Regions from separate parts of the Homo sapiens genome. Here region 1 is linked to region 2. Evidence: promoter capture Hi-C in human tissues and cell types (Jung and others, 2019). All regions are on one chromosome and are shown on one strand. Each heading gives the region's core, a stretch centred on a gene start or on the middle of the fragment in contact. The rest is flanking DNA. Distances are from core to core; before and after follow the strand shown.

Region 1 (5,757 bases), core at 1,079-3,578, 1.5 Mb after region 2:
CCTGTGCCCTCTGCCCGGAATGCTTTTCCTCCAGAAGCCTGCTTGGCTCCCTCATCATCTTTTATTTATTTATTTATCTTTTATTTTTTCGAGACACTGTCTCACTCTGTCACCCAGGCTGGAGTGCAGTGGTGCAATCTTGGCTCACTGCAACCTCCGCCTCCCAGGTTCAAGGGATTCTCCTGCCTCAGCCTCCCGAGTAGCTGGGATTACAGGCATGGGCCACCACACCCAGCTAATTTTTGTAATTTTAGTAGAGATGGGGTTTCACCATGTTAGTCAGGCTGGTCTCGAACTCCTGACCTCAAGTGATCTGCCTGCCTCAGCCTCCCAAAGTGCTGGGATTACAGGCGAGAGGCACCATGCCTGGCCCCTAATTTTCTGTAAAACCGCACAAATCCCGCCTTCCCCATAGAATCACCCAGACCAGCCCTGTGCCCAGTCCAGGCTCTTCTCCTGTTTCTGTTCTCAAAGCACTTTCCACCTGGCTTCAGGCTGTCTCACTTATTGCTGTGTTCATTGTCGGCCTCCCTGCCTACACCATCACCTCCACCAGAGTGGGGTTCTCTGCTCTGCTTATGGATGTTTCTAGCATTTTGTGGCACACAGTAGGTGCTCAGTAACTATTTGCTGAATGAATGACCGACACCAGCCGGCACGGATGGAGCAATCGCATAAATGAGAGTTCATCTCTCACGCATCATCAGGAGCCATGACAGGGAGTCTACGCCTCCACTGCCCATGATAGGACAGCTTTGAGATTAGATCAGGTCCTCTGCAGAGTCGCCCATGACCCATCCCAACCCACGTCCCCTCATCATTGCATCCTGTCATTTATTTATAATTGTGGTAAAATCACATGCACATAACATAAAATTTGTCATCTTAACCATTGTATTGTTATTTGAGACGGACTGTCACTCTGTCACCCAGGCTGGAGTGCAGTGGTGCAATCTTGGCTCACTGCAACCTCCGCTTCCCAGGTTCAAGTGATTCTCCTGCTTCAGCCTCCCAAGTAGTTGGGACTACAGGCGCCCGCCACCACGCCCAGCTAATTTTTGTATTTTTAATAGAGGTGGGGTTTCGCCATCTTGGCCAGGCTGGTCTCAAACTCCTGACCTCGGTTGATCTTCCCTCCTCGGCCTCCCAAAGAGCTGGGATTACAGGCGTGAGCCATCGCGCCCAGCTAATTTTTGTATTTTTAGTAGGACAGGGTTTTGCCATATTGGCCAAGCTGGTCTTGAAATCCTGGGCTCAAGTGATCCACCCGCCTCAGCCTCCCAGAGTGTTGGGATTACAGACATGAGCCACTGTGCCCGACCTAAGACTTTGCTTTCTATTCTTTTTGGGTGTATACCCAGGAATAGAGTTGCTCATAGGGTAATTCTGTTTAACTTTTTCCATCTCTACACAAAATACAAAAAATTAGCCAGGCATGATGGTGCACACCTGTGGTTTTAGCTACTCGGGAGGCTGAGGTGGGAGAATCACCTGAGCCAGGGAAGTCGAGGCTGCAGTGAGCCGTGATCGCACCACTGCTCTCCAGCCTGGGTGACAGAGCAAGACCCTGTCTCTTAAAAACAAACTTTTTGGGTTTTTTGTTTTACATAGCAGTGGCACTATTTTACAATCCCACCAAAATGCACCAGGTTAAACTTCCCATTAAGACGTGGGCCTACTCCACCAGACTACAGAGTTGCCCCATCCCAGCCTTGTTCCTCGTTTGTCTGTTAAAATGCACCCTCTAGCTGGTATACAGTAGGCGCTCAATATTTGTTGAACAAATGAGTGAACGTGGACCTGGTCATTAGACTGATGACAAGAGTCGAGGTTGGGGAGATTAAGGCGTTTCTTGAGAGCCAGCTGTATACCAGGGCGAGGGGATTTTTAAAGACTGTGAACGGAGTAATTCAACCATGAGTTTCACCTGGCCCAGGTTTAAGGCCACCTCCCCGCAGAACTCTCCTCGTCCAGCAGAGGGCGCCTTAAGGTGATATGCTAACGAAAGGAAATAATATGCAAATGAGTAATAGCGGGCCCCGCGGGGCTTTTTTGGTCAGGCGCGCCGTGGACAGCCCTGGCGCCGCAGGGGCCTGGGGCTCAAGATGGCGCCGCTACAGCCGCCGAAGGTCGGGCGGCGGCGCTGGCGAGGCTCCCGGAGACCGCAGGCAGGGCAGCCCCTGCCCTCCTTACTTCCTCCCGCGGCCGTCTGTCCCGGCCCAGGGGTCCGTCACCAGCCTTGGTCGCGCAGGAGCAGGCGTTTCTGAGCAGGCGCGCTGCGGGCAGCCCCTCCCGGGGTCCCTTGCGGCGGCGTCCCGAGGGCCTCCGGGGGCCTCGGAGCAAGATGGCGGCGGCGGGGTCCGTGAGGCGCGGGCGGCGGCGACCGCGGCGCCAGTGAGGGGGCCCTGGGGCCCGGGCGGCTCCGGGCCGGGGCCCCGCCGCGGGACGGACCATGCTACGCTCCACTGGCTTCTTCCGGGCCATTGACTGCCCCTATTGGTCTGGGGCGCCCGGGGGGCCCTGCCGGCGGCCCTACTGCCACTTCCGGCACCGCGGGGCCCGGGGCTCCGGCGCGCCCGGTGACGGCGGAGAGGCGCCCCCCGCAGCAGGTAATGCCCGCCCGCCTGCTTGCCTTGGGCTCGGCTCCCCTGCCCGGGTCTGGACCCCACCCCGGTCCCGCCCGGGGTCCCCGTTCTCGGCCCAGCCTCCTCCCCACACGTTCGCGGGCGACGGTTTTCCCAGTCGGGACCGGAACCACCCACCCTGGGACCCGGTGCAAAGCACTAGATGTCCCTAAGCCTTCGTCTTCACGAGTGTGAAATGTCAACTAGGAGGACGCGTCCTGCCAGGGCTGTCTAGAGGGCGGAGTGCGAGCGCATGTTGAGTACCGGGCACCGGGCCTGACACAAGGGGGCTCGGGAGACGGGCGCGGCCGGCGCTAGGCAGGTCCTGGACTCCTCCTGCCCCTGATTGGCGCCCGCCGCTTCCCGGACCCCATGTGCTTGTGGCCGCCCTTGTTTATTTCCATGACGTTTCCTCCGGCCGCGCCTCTGGCAGCGGCCACCTCAGTCTCCAGTCGTTGAGTTAGGATGGTCCGAGGATCGTCTCTTGTGTTTGTCGAGCCCTGTGTCCAGCATGACTGGCAGGGAGGAAGTCAAAGCTTACTCGAGTGGGCTCCGAGGAATTCCATGCTTTTGGTCGGGCAGAGGACGTTGGTGGACTCCACCTCACAGCGTCATGGTGGTTTTCATCGTCATGGCAGCGTTTCTTGGAGGAGATGTGGGATTTGGATTGGAGAAAAAGAGGGACATCGCAAGGAAAGTCGTGGAGGGAGGGTTATCGAGTGTGATGTCATTCAGACTCCCCTGTTACCTCTGTCCCTTGATAGTGGCTCTCTGCTTCACCCAGCCCCTGACTTCCTTCGTCCCAGATTTCCTCATTGGGCGTGAGTTTCAAGCACTGTTTTTACTTTAACCATGAAACAGTCTCAGCTCAGAACCTTTTCCTGCAAAAGAGAAACATCTTCTCTAGGATTTAAGAATAGGTTTATTTTCCTGTTTTGCCAGAAAAGGTAGCATTTTTTTCTGATTTCCCTGATAAGTGTGCTTGGGACACCTGCACCTGTGGGCGGTTGTTTGCAGGTGGACAGATGCAAGCAATCACTTGTCAGCTCCCCACAGCCCAGCGTCTTCGCTGTGTTTGAGGCGGGGGATTCAGAGCTGCGTACGATGCCGGCTGTGCTCTCAGGGACCTGCCGACAGCTGTGCCTACAGATCCCGTAGCATAGGTCGTGATGTCCTGGGAGCACGCAGCCGGCTTTGGCGGGGGCTGGGAGTTGGTGAAGAAGGCAACGCGTGGGAGAGGCTTCTCGGAGGCTGTGACACCAGACTCACGATGCTCATTTTAACCCTATTTTTAGAGACAGGGTCTCACTCTATAGTCCAGGCTGGAGTGCAGTGGTGCGATCACAGCTCTTTGAGGCCTCGACCTCCTGGGCTCAAGGGATCCTCCTGCCTGAACCTCCTGAGTAGCTGGGACTATGGGCGGCGGGTGCCACCAAGCCTGGCTAACTTTGTATGTTTTCGTGGAGATAGGGTCTCGCTATGTTGTCCAGGCTTGTCTCAAAACTCCTGGCCTCGAGCCGACCTCCTGCTTCGGCCTCCCAAAGTGCTGGGGTTACAGGTGTGAGCTACTGCACCCGGCGCAAGTCAGGCTTATGATATCTGTCTGCATCCCAAATGGCTCATTTGTTTCCCAAAGGCTTATTTTTGAGGGTCCCTTTGGTGATGTCGTCTTCCTGTCTGCCCCCCGTTCCTATGGGAAAAAGGCAGCTGCCTGCCTCTTACCATGGCGTGTCTGCATTTCCCTTTTGCTGGTGAGAATGAACTCCTTTTCCCATCTCTGGTGGGGTGGTAGGGCTTCTTGTTACTGTCTGGTAGAAGACTGCCTCCCCCCGCAGAAGGCAGGATCCATCTTCCTTGCGGTGAGGTTTCTCTGACCCTCTGTTTCCGCCTCCGTGACATGTTCATCAGGCTGCCCTCTGAGGACAGGGGGGGATGCATGTCCCATGTCCACACCTCCAGATTTACACACACCCAGTTTCCTATGAGATTTGAAGAGGCTGGCGTGATCTAGCCTTTGCCATGTCTTCTCAAGGGGATTTTAGGGTGCACAGGGCAGCGGCCTCCAGAGAGGAGATAGACAGGAACGCTGGCCTCCCAGGATTGAGAGTGGACAGAGGTTCAGGTGAAAAGCCCTCAGCTAGCCCTGGAGCACCTGTGGGGCCATGCTCTGTGCTGGACACGCGCTGCATGGTGACCCTGTGAGCTATTTGCTGCCGGTGGGGAAACGGAGGCTTATCGAGGAACGTGTTTTGCCCATACTACCACCTGGCCAGGGCAGGGCTGGAGCCTCCAGGGCCTCTGGGAGAAGGAGAGGGCATCTGATGAGGGCACCAAGGCAGGCAGGGTTGGGAGGCTTGGCGGAGCTGCGACGGGAACAGGAAGGTGGCTGGTGCTCCTGGGCCCTGGGTCACAGGCTCAGCGGGTCATTGGCGACCTTGAGCAGCACTGCTGAAGGACTCAGGTTTCCTTCTGGGCTCTTATCCCTGGACCTGCTCAGCCATTTTATTTAATGAATTAATTTTTGAGACAGGGTCTCACTTTATCACCCAGGCTGGAGTGCAGTGGTGCGATCACAGCTTACTGCAGCCTCGACCTCCTGGACTCAAGGGATCCACCTGGCTCAGCCTCCTGACTAGCTGAGACCACAGGCATGTGACATCACACCTCGCTAATGTTTAAAATTTTTGCCGAGACGGGGTCTCACTTTGTTGCCCATGCTGGTCTTGAGCTCCTGGACTCAAGCGATCCTCTCTCCTCAGCCTCCTGAAGTGCTGGGATGACAGGCGTGAAGCACCGCGCTGGGCTGCACAGCCATTTCAGAGCCGGCTGGACCTGCCCAGGGTGGCTTGGAGGGATGGTCCAGCAGCCCTTACGGCGGGCACCGTGTAGCCCTGGGACGCAGGGATGTGCATCCCCGGCCTAGAGGGGCACGTTCTATCCCAGCCTTGTGAGTTGGGAATGAGCGTTACTATCCCCCCAGTGGCCGCTCTCTGCTGCCTGGGCCTTGGCTGCAGCCTGGTGGTAGGTGAGGGGCCTCGGTTGTCTATGTGGAGTGGGCAGGGCTAGATCCCACCTTCCTCCCATCTGACCTCAGAACCCAGGCCTCTGCCCACTGCCCCGCACTCCCTGTGGT
Region 2 (6,166 bases), core at 235-2,734:
AAAGCTGCTCAGAAAGGGAAACTGAGGCTGGGACAGGGACTTACCCAAGGTCACTCAGGGGATCACAGGTAGGACAGACCTCAGACCCCCTCAGCACCAGCTCCCACATTCCCTGTCGGCTGCAGGGGGCCGGTGAGAAAGACCCTACCAAGGAGCATGCCTGGCGTGGGGGGTCCCTCACTGCACCATGCCCTGGAGCGGAAGCCGGGGACTCATATACTCCCCACACAGTGCTTCTTAAGACGGGCCTGGCCCTCGCTGGAATCGCACCCCCCACGTGCCGGGACTTTACAGTTTGCCCGCCATACTGTCCCCTCTCCAGAACCGGCCTTAGCCGCACCTCACTTCAGGGGAAACTGAGGCCAGAACCTCTCCAGCCTAAAGACACACTGCGTAAGGAGGAAAGCAGCGGTCTAGAAAACGGAACTTGCAGACCTCGGGGTCCCCGGGAGCCTGGGCTGGAAGGAGTCCCCGGGGGGAGCCGCCCCCTCCCCACACACCCCCTCGGCCATTGCACAAGGCTCGGCCCCGGGGCAGTCTGGGAGTGCGGCCAGGGGTGAGAGGCTACGGGAGGGGGAGGGGGAGGGGGAGGGGACGGGGCAGGTGCCGGGCTGGCGAGGGCGTCCGCAGCGCCGCAGTGCCCGGGCCAGACCCGGAGCGCCGGGCCTCCCGCTCCTCCCGGCGGCGGCTCCAGAATCCAGAATCCAGAATCCAGAATCGATGCAGCGAAAATACCGGGACGGTGCTGGGGGGCTTGCAAAGGAGGGGGGACCCAGCCGGGCCGCCGGAGCACCCTTCCCCCTCCTGGGCCTCCAACTTCTCCTGCCCCCTCCCCCTCCATGCACACGTGGGCCAATAACGAGGGAAAGGCGACCGAGGGCCAGGGCGGCCCGCACAACCTTGGTGGGGGGACACGGGGAAAACACATGAGAGGTCCCTTTCTCTCCAGCTGGGGAGACCCAGGGTCCAATCACGACCCCCTAGATTCCTCTCAGAGGCAGGCGGGGGGCTTCCCGCAGAGCCCTTGCTGGAGGGGGGCCAGCCCCCACCCCGACCTTTCCGAGTGTCGGGGCGGGGGTGCGGAGTGCGTCGGTGTGTGGGGGGGGGACGCAAATCTGCAGACCAAGCCCCACATCCGGGAGAGGTCCCGAGAGTCGGGGTTGGGGGTGCTGGGCGGGAGTCCCGCGTAGGGGGTCCGCGGTAGGTAAGGGTGTGGGGGGGGTACCCCAGCCTGACCCATCCCCCCACCGGACCCCAGCCCTCGGCGCGGGGGGCATCCCGGGCAGGGATGGCGGGAGGGACGCGCGCCTTTTTCGTCCCGCCTCCTCCTGCTTCAAAACTCCGGGGCTGGGATGCGGGGGGCGCGGGGGCGCCGGCGGGGGGCCGGGCGAGGACCGTACCTGGGTGAGGCAGAGCGGGGACGAATACATCCCGGGCGCGGCGGGAGGCGCAGGGCCGGCCGGAGCGGGCGCGCTGAACTTACTGAGTCATTTTTCCAAACCACCCCCCCGCCCCCCCCAACCCCCCCCCCCGCCCCGCGGCCGGCGCGCTCTCCTCGCCGCCTCCTCCCTCGGTCTCCCTCCTCCTCCCTCCTGCTCTCCCTCTCTCGCGCCGCCCGCCTCGCTCTCTGTCCCTCTCTCCCTCCGTCTCTCTCTTCCTCTCTCCCCCGTCTCTGTCTCTCTGTCTCTCTCTCTACCCTCTGACACCCTCCCCCTCCCACCCCGAACCTCCCACTTCTCAACACCCAACTTTCAAAGAAACGAGGGAAAAAAGGGCGCGAGCGAGAAAGGAGAGCCTCCCCCGACGTCTCAGGACCCCCCCGCTCCTCCCGTATTTACGCAATGCCCCAGGGCACTAGACCAGGACCCCAGGACTGCAGGGCGACCCCAATTCGGATCAAGCGGAGAGGGGGGACAGGGTTGTTTCTGGACATTGAGGGGCCAGGGGTGGATTTTTAAGGCCCCCCCTCCCCACCCCCCCATCACCCCCGAGCTGGCCGGGAAGTTGGAGGAAAGAGCCAGGGGGGAGGGAAGGAATGAAGAAGTGACGTGCGCAGAGGCCGGCCAGCGCGCCTCTTTCCCCTTAAAGATGTACGACCCTGGGTGCACGGTGAGCTGGTCCCACAGCACCCTGGCTCCCTTCTCCCCCCAGAGCCAGGCAGGGGCTGCGGGTCCCCAGCTAGAGGGGCTTGTGTGCAGCTGTCCCTTCCTTGGCCAGAAGGGCCCAGGCTAACACGGGAGGCTCCAGAATTTGCTCTCTTCACCCAGCACCCAAGGGGCAGGGGAGGGGTGGCCTCGCCTGTGTGTCTCTCCAGCACCCCAGGAGGACGGTGTCCAGGCGGGATCTCCAGCTGGCCAGATAAACCCTTGCAGCCTCCCCCTGGGTATCCAATAATTTCCACCTGCCTCAGGGGTGTGCCCTTTTCACAGATCTCAAGACTGAGGTATGGCAAGTGTGGCTTGGAGCCAGGCCATCTGGACCTGGAGCCCACATTCTGTTCTCCTTCTAGACGTAACAGGGCAGAGACCTGGCCTGCCTCCGTCTGAGCCCCCAGGGCATCTGATGACAGGGCCCCAACCCTCCCCCGGTTCACTCCCTGGATCCTCCCAGGCTAGCTCAGAGGCTGCTGTGTCTCTCATTCCCATCCCAAGGGTTCTCCCCTATAAAGTGGCTTAAAGATGCCCATCCTGTGGGATTGCTGGGGATAAGGACAATGACCTTAGCAGAGCCTTGACCTTGGGTCAAATGTTCACTAAAGACACATTCTTAGAAAGCTTGGCCATTTCACCTCATCTCTCTGAGCTTCCCAAGGACAAATGATACCCTCTCACCAAGCTGGGGCAGGTGCCCCAGGCCCAGGGGCGCAGAAGATACCAGCACCCATTATCCTCAGGCATTACAGGAGAGGAAACTGAGGCCCAGAGAACGGAAGCCACTTGCCCAGGGTCTGACAGGTAAACTAGGAGGGAGCAGAATTCCTGCAGCGTAGGTTCCCTAGGCCCCCCACAGGCTCCCCTCTGCATGACGGTGACATTATTCAAACAGTGCTTAGTACATCACGAACGGTCCATAAATGTGTGTGTCTGTGTATTTTAAACCCACTGTGCAGCTGTGGGGAGCATTTGAATTAAATGGTGAGAAGTGTATCTGGAAATCCACATACCAATATAACGTGAAGCAATTTATTTTATTAAAACACGCTAGGGACACATACAGGGTGAAATCTAAAATTCACAGATATTTAAAAGTTGCAGTTGACTTCAGACACTCCTCCTAGACTTCCAGACCCCGTGCCTTCCACCCTCCCTCCCCTGTACAGACCACCCTGCCTGCAGCCTTCATTCAGCAGCTTAGAATCCTTTGGAAGGTGAAGTTTAGAGAGCAGAGACTGCCCCTCTTGGAACCTCGGTTTCCTCATCTGTAAAATGGCTATAGTAACAGGATGCATCTTGGGAGGTGGGGAAGGTTGGAGTCTTTACATAGCATGTGGGAAGGCTGTGTGAATATTATTGGTGGCGGTAGCTGCAGGGAGAAACTTCTGCAAGTGTACGAACAGCAGCCTATATCCCAGTTTGGGTGGCAAGGGACCCCCGCAGCACACACAGTTGGTTCCCTAAATTGCCGCGTGGGCTCGCTGCTTGGGTCTATGTCTCCTCCAGTCAGCAGCTTCGTCTCTCTGCACCTCGGCTCTCCCTCTGTGAAATGGGGCGACGCCAGCTCATAACCCTCCAGGTTGTAGGCAAGTCAGCAAATACCTGCCCGTGGTTACAACAGGGAACTGTACGTCATAGTTTCTTTAAAAAGGCAATTGGTAGATTGGGACCTGCATGTGGAGGGCCCGGAAGATGGGTGCATGATTTAGCTCCTGGCACTTTCGAGCACAATCTGGCTCATTTTTTTTTTTTTTCAAAGCACTCTCTCTACAGTTATTTCACTCTTCGGCATCTCTGTAACTGTCCCAGATACAGGAGCACAAAAGAGTTGACTGCCACCTATAAAACTAATGCCCACAATTTGGAGGCAGCCATGCTGTCCATCTGTGGGGGACCGGTTTAGTAATCCCAACACAGGCTGGGACACTATGCAGCTGAGTAAAACCAGTGGCTCCCAACTGGTTATGTCCCCAAGAGACAAGTGGGGGGACAGAAAGCTGGAGAGCTCTCCCCCTTGGCACTGTGGACACTGGGGCTGGATCGCTCTCTGGGTTGGGGCCGTCCTGGGCCCTGCAGGGTGCTGAGCAGAGTCCATGGCCTCCACCCACTCCATGCCAGGGGCACCCCCCAGTCGTGACAACCACAAATGTCCTTAGACATGGCTAAGTGTCCCATGGGAACAGAATCAACCCTGGCTGAGACCCCACTGCTGTAGACCCAGCAAGGAAATTCAAGATCTCATTTAGGGTTTTAAAGAGTACACATGTATTTATACAAATATACATAGTATCCTTTACATACACACACATGCACACACACCCACACACACACATATCTCCTTTGGCCGGTTGTAGTGGCTCACGCCTGTAATCCCAACACTTTGGGAGGCCGAGGCAGGCAGATCACTTGAGGTCAGGAGTTTAAAATCAGCCTGGCCAACATGGCGAAACCCCGTCTCTACTAAAATTACAAAAATTAGCCGGGCATGGGCGAGGGTGCCTGTAATGTCAGCTACTCGGGAGGCTGAGGCTGGAGGTTCGCTTGAACTCGGGAGGTGGAGGTTGCAGTGAGCCAGGATCATGCCATTGCACTCCAGCCTGGGCAACAGAGCGAAACTCCATCTCAAAAAAAAAAAAAAAAAAAATATATATATATATATATATATATATATACACACACATACACATACATATACATATGTCTCCTTTATGGAAATACACGAGTATTTCCACAAGTACATCCTTTATGGAAATATACACATATGCACATGTATCCTCTATAAGTGTGTATTTCTCAGTCCTGCAAATGCTCCAACTATAGATGGTAACATTCTGGAGCGGGGTTCCACCCAGGAATGGGGGTGATCAGAAAGATTGGATTTTTTTTCCTCTGGATACAGTTGTATCCTCTTCATATGATCACTAATGGCTTCAGTAATTAAAGGAAAACTTAAAAAGTTGAATGCAATTCACAGAGCAGCTCAGGCAGGGTAGACAGGAACCCCCAGCCCCCCATGGTAACCCCACAGCCACCACACCCAGAGAATAAAGGACATAATCTTGCAGGCAAATGATTACACAGCAGTGCAGTGTGCAGTCAGCCTCCCCTAGCCCCGCACCTGCTCAGCAAGGGGCTCACAATGTCAGCTCCCCAGGAACCTTGCAAGGGTCCCATGTGGTCCCATTTTACAGATGAGAAACTGAGGCTGTAAGAAGGGATGTTAAAGTCAAGTGAGTTAAAGGTCAGATAGGCCGTTGAGGCTGGTACAGATAGACACACACACCACACACTACGACCTACAGAGACACACAGACACACATCGTGCAGACTCAAGCAGCTGCAGACACAGACTCCACACGACACACAGCTACATACACAAAGACACAAATACACGCACAGACTCACATAAAAACAGACCCATATATCATCACAGCCTTCCCCCCACACCTGACCTCAGATACCTCCTCAAAGAGGGGCGAGCAGAGACACACACACACACACACAGACCCACATGGCACACACACAGCCACAAACACACCCTCCCAACTCCCCACAGGACGCTTCTTGACAAGCACAACGCATGGATATAGCTGCCCCCACACAAGTGCAGACACAACCACAAACACATGGGCACTTGTCCACAATCACAGACACACTCCACACAAAAGCACACACTCTTACAAGCACACACACACCCACAAGTGGAACCCCCCGGTATTCCCATACAGGCACACACAGAGTCACATACGCACCATCACAATGACACACAGCACGCCACCTCCCTGCTCCTCCTGCACCAGCTCTGCCTGGAGCTGGGCTCTCGGCCCTGCAGAAACGCGGTGGGGACAGGGAAGGGCAGGAGGGTGAGATGTGGTTGTCTATCCCCCCGCAAGTGCGGTGTTTGTGTCCGTGAGTGTGTCTGCCCATGTGTGTCTGTGCACGCCTGTGTGTGTGACGTCTGTCTCTAGACAGGCCTGTGTGTGTCTATGTGAGTCTCTGTGTGGTTGTGTGTG

What was found. Contacts are between HindIII fragments. The study calls those that stand out against the background at their distance.
Region 1: a contact is called between the fragment with the promoter of REXO1 here and the fragment with the promoter of NFIC in region 2, in 1 of the 25 tissues and cell types used here (spleen).

What each region holds. Positions count from the first base shown.
Region 1 is chr19:1,845,054-1,850,810 of GRCh38, reverse strand. REXO1 (RNA exonuclease 1 homolog) reads left to right here and starts at 2,328. Exons shown (of 16, transcript NM_020695.4): 1 at 2,328-2,609. The coding sequence starts at 2,453. RefSeq lists enhancers at 1,861-1,940, 1,961-2,110 and a silencer at 2,131-2,600. The HindIII fragment of the contact is 7,366 bases long and covers 1-5,331 here.
Region 2 is chr19:3,361,901-3,368,066 of GRCh38, reverse strand. It overlaps NFIC (nuclear factor I C), which reads right to left and starts at 1,484. Exons shown (of 11, transcript NM_001245002.2): 1 at 1,401-1,484. The coding sequence starts at 1,430. RefSeq lists silencers at 476-875, 1,166-1,315, 1,766-1,855. The HindIII fragment of the contact is 27,364 bases long and covers 1-6,166 here.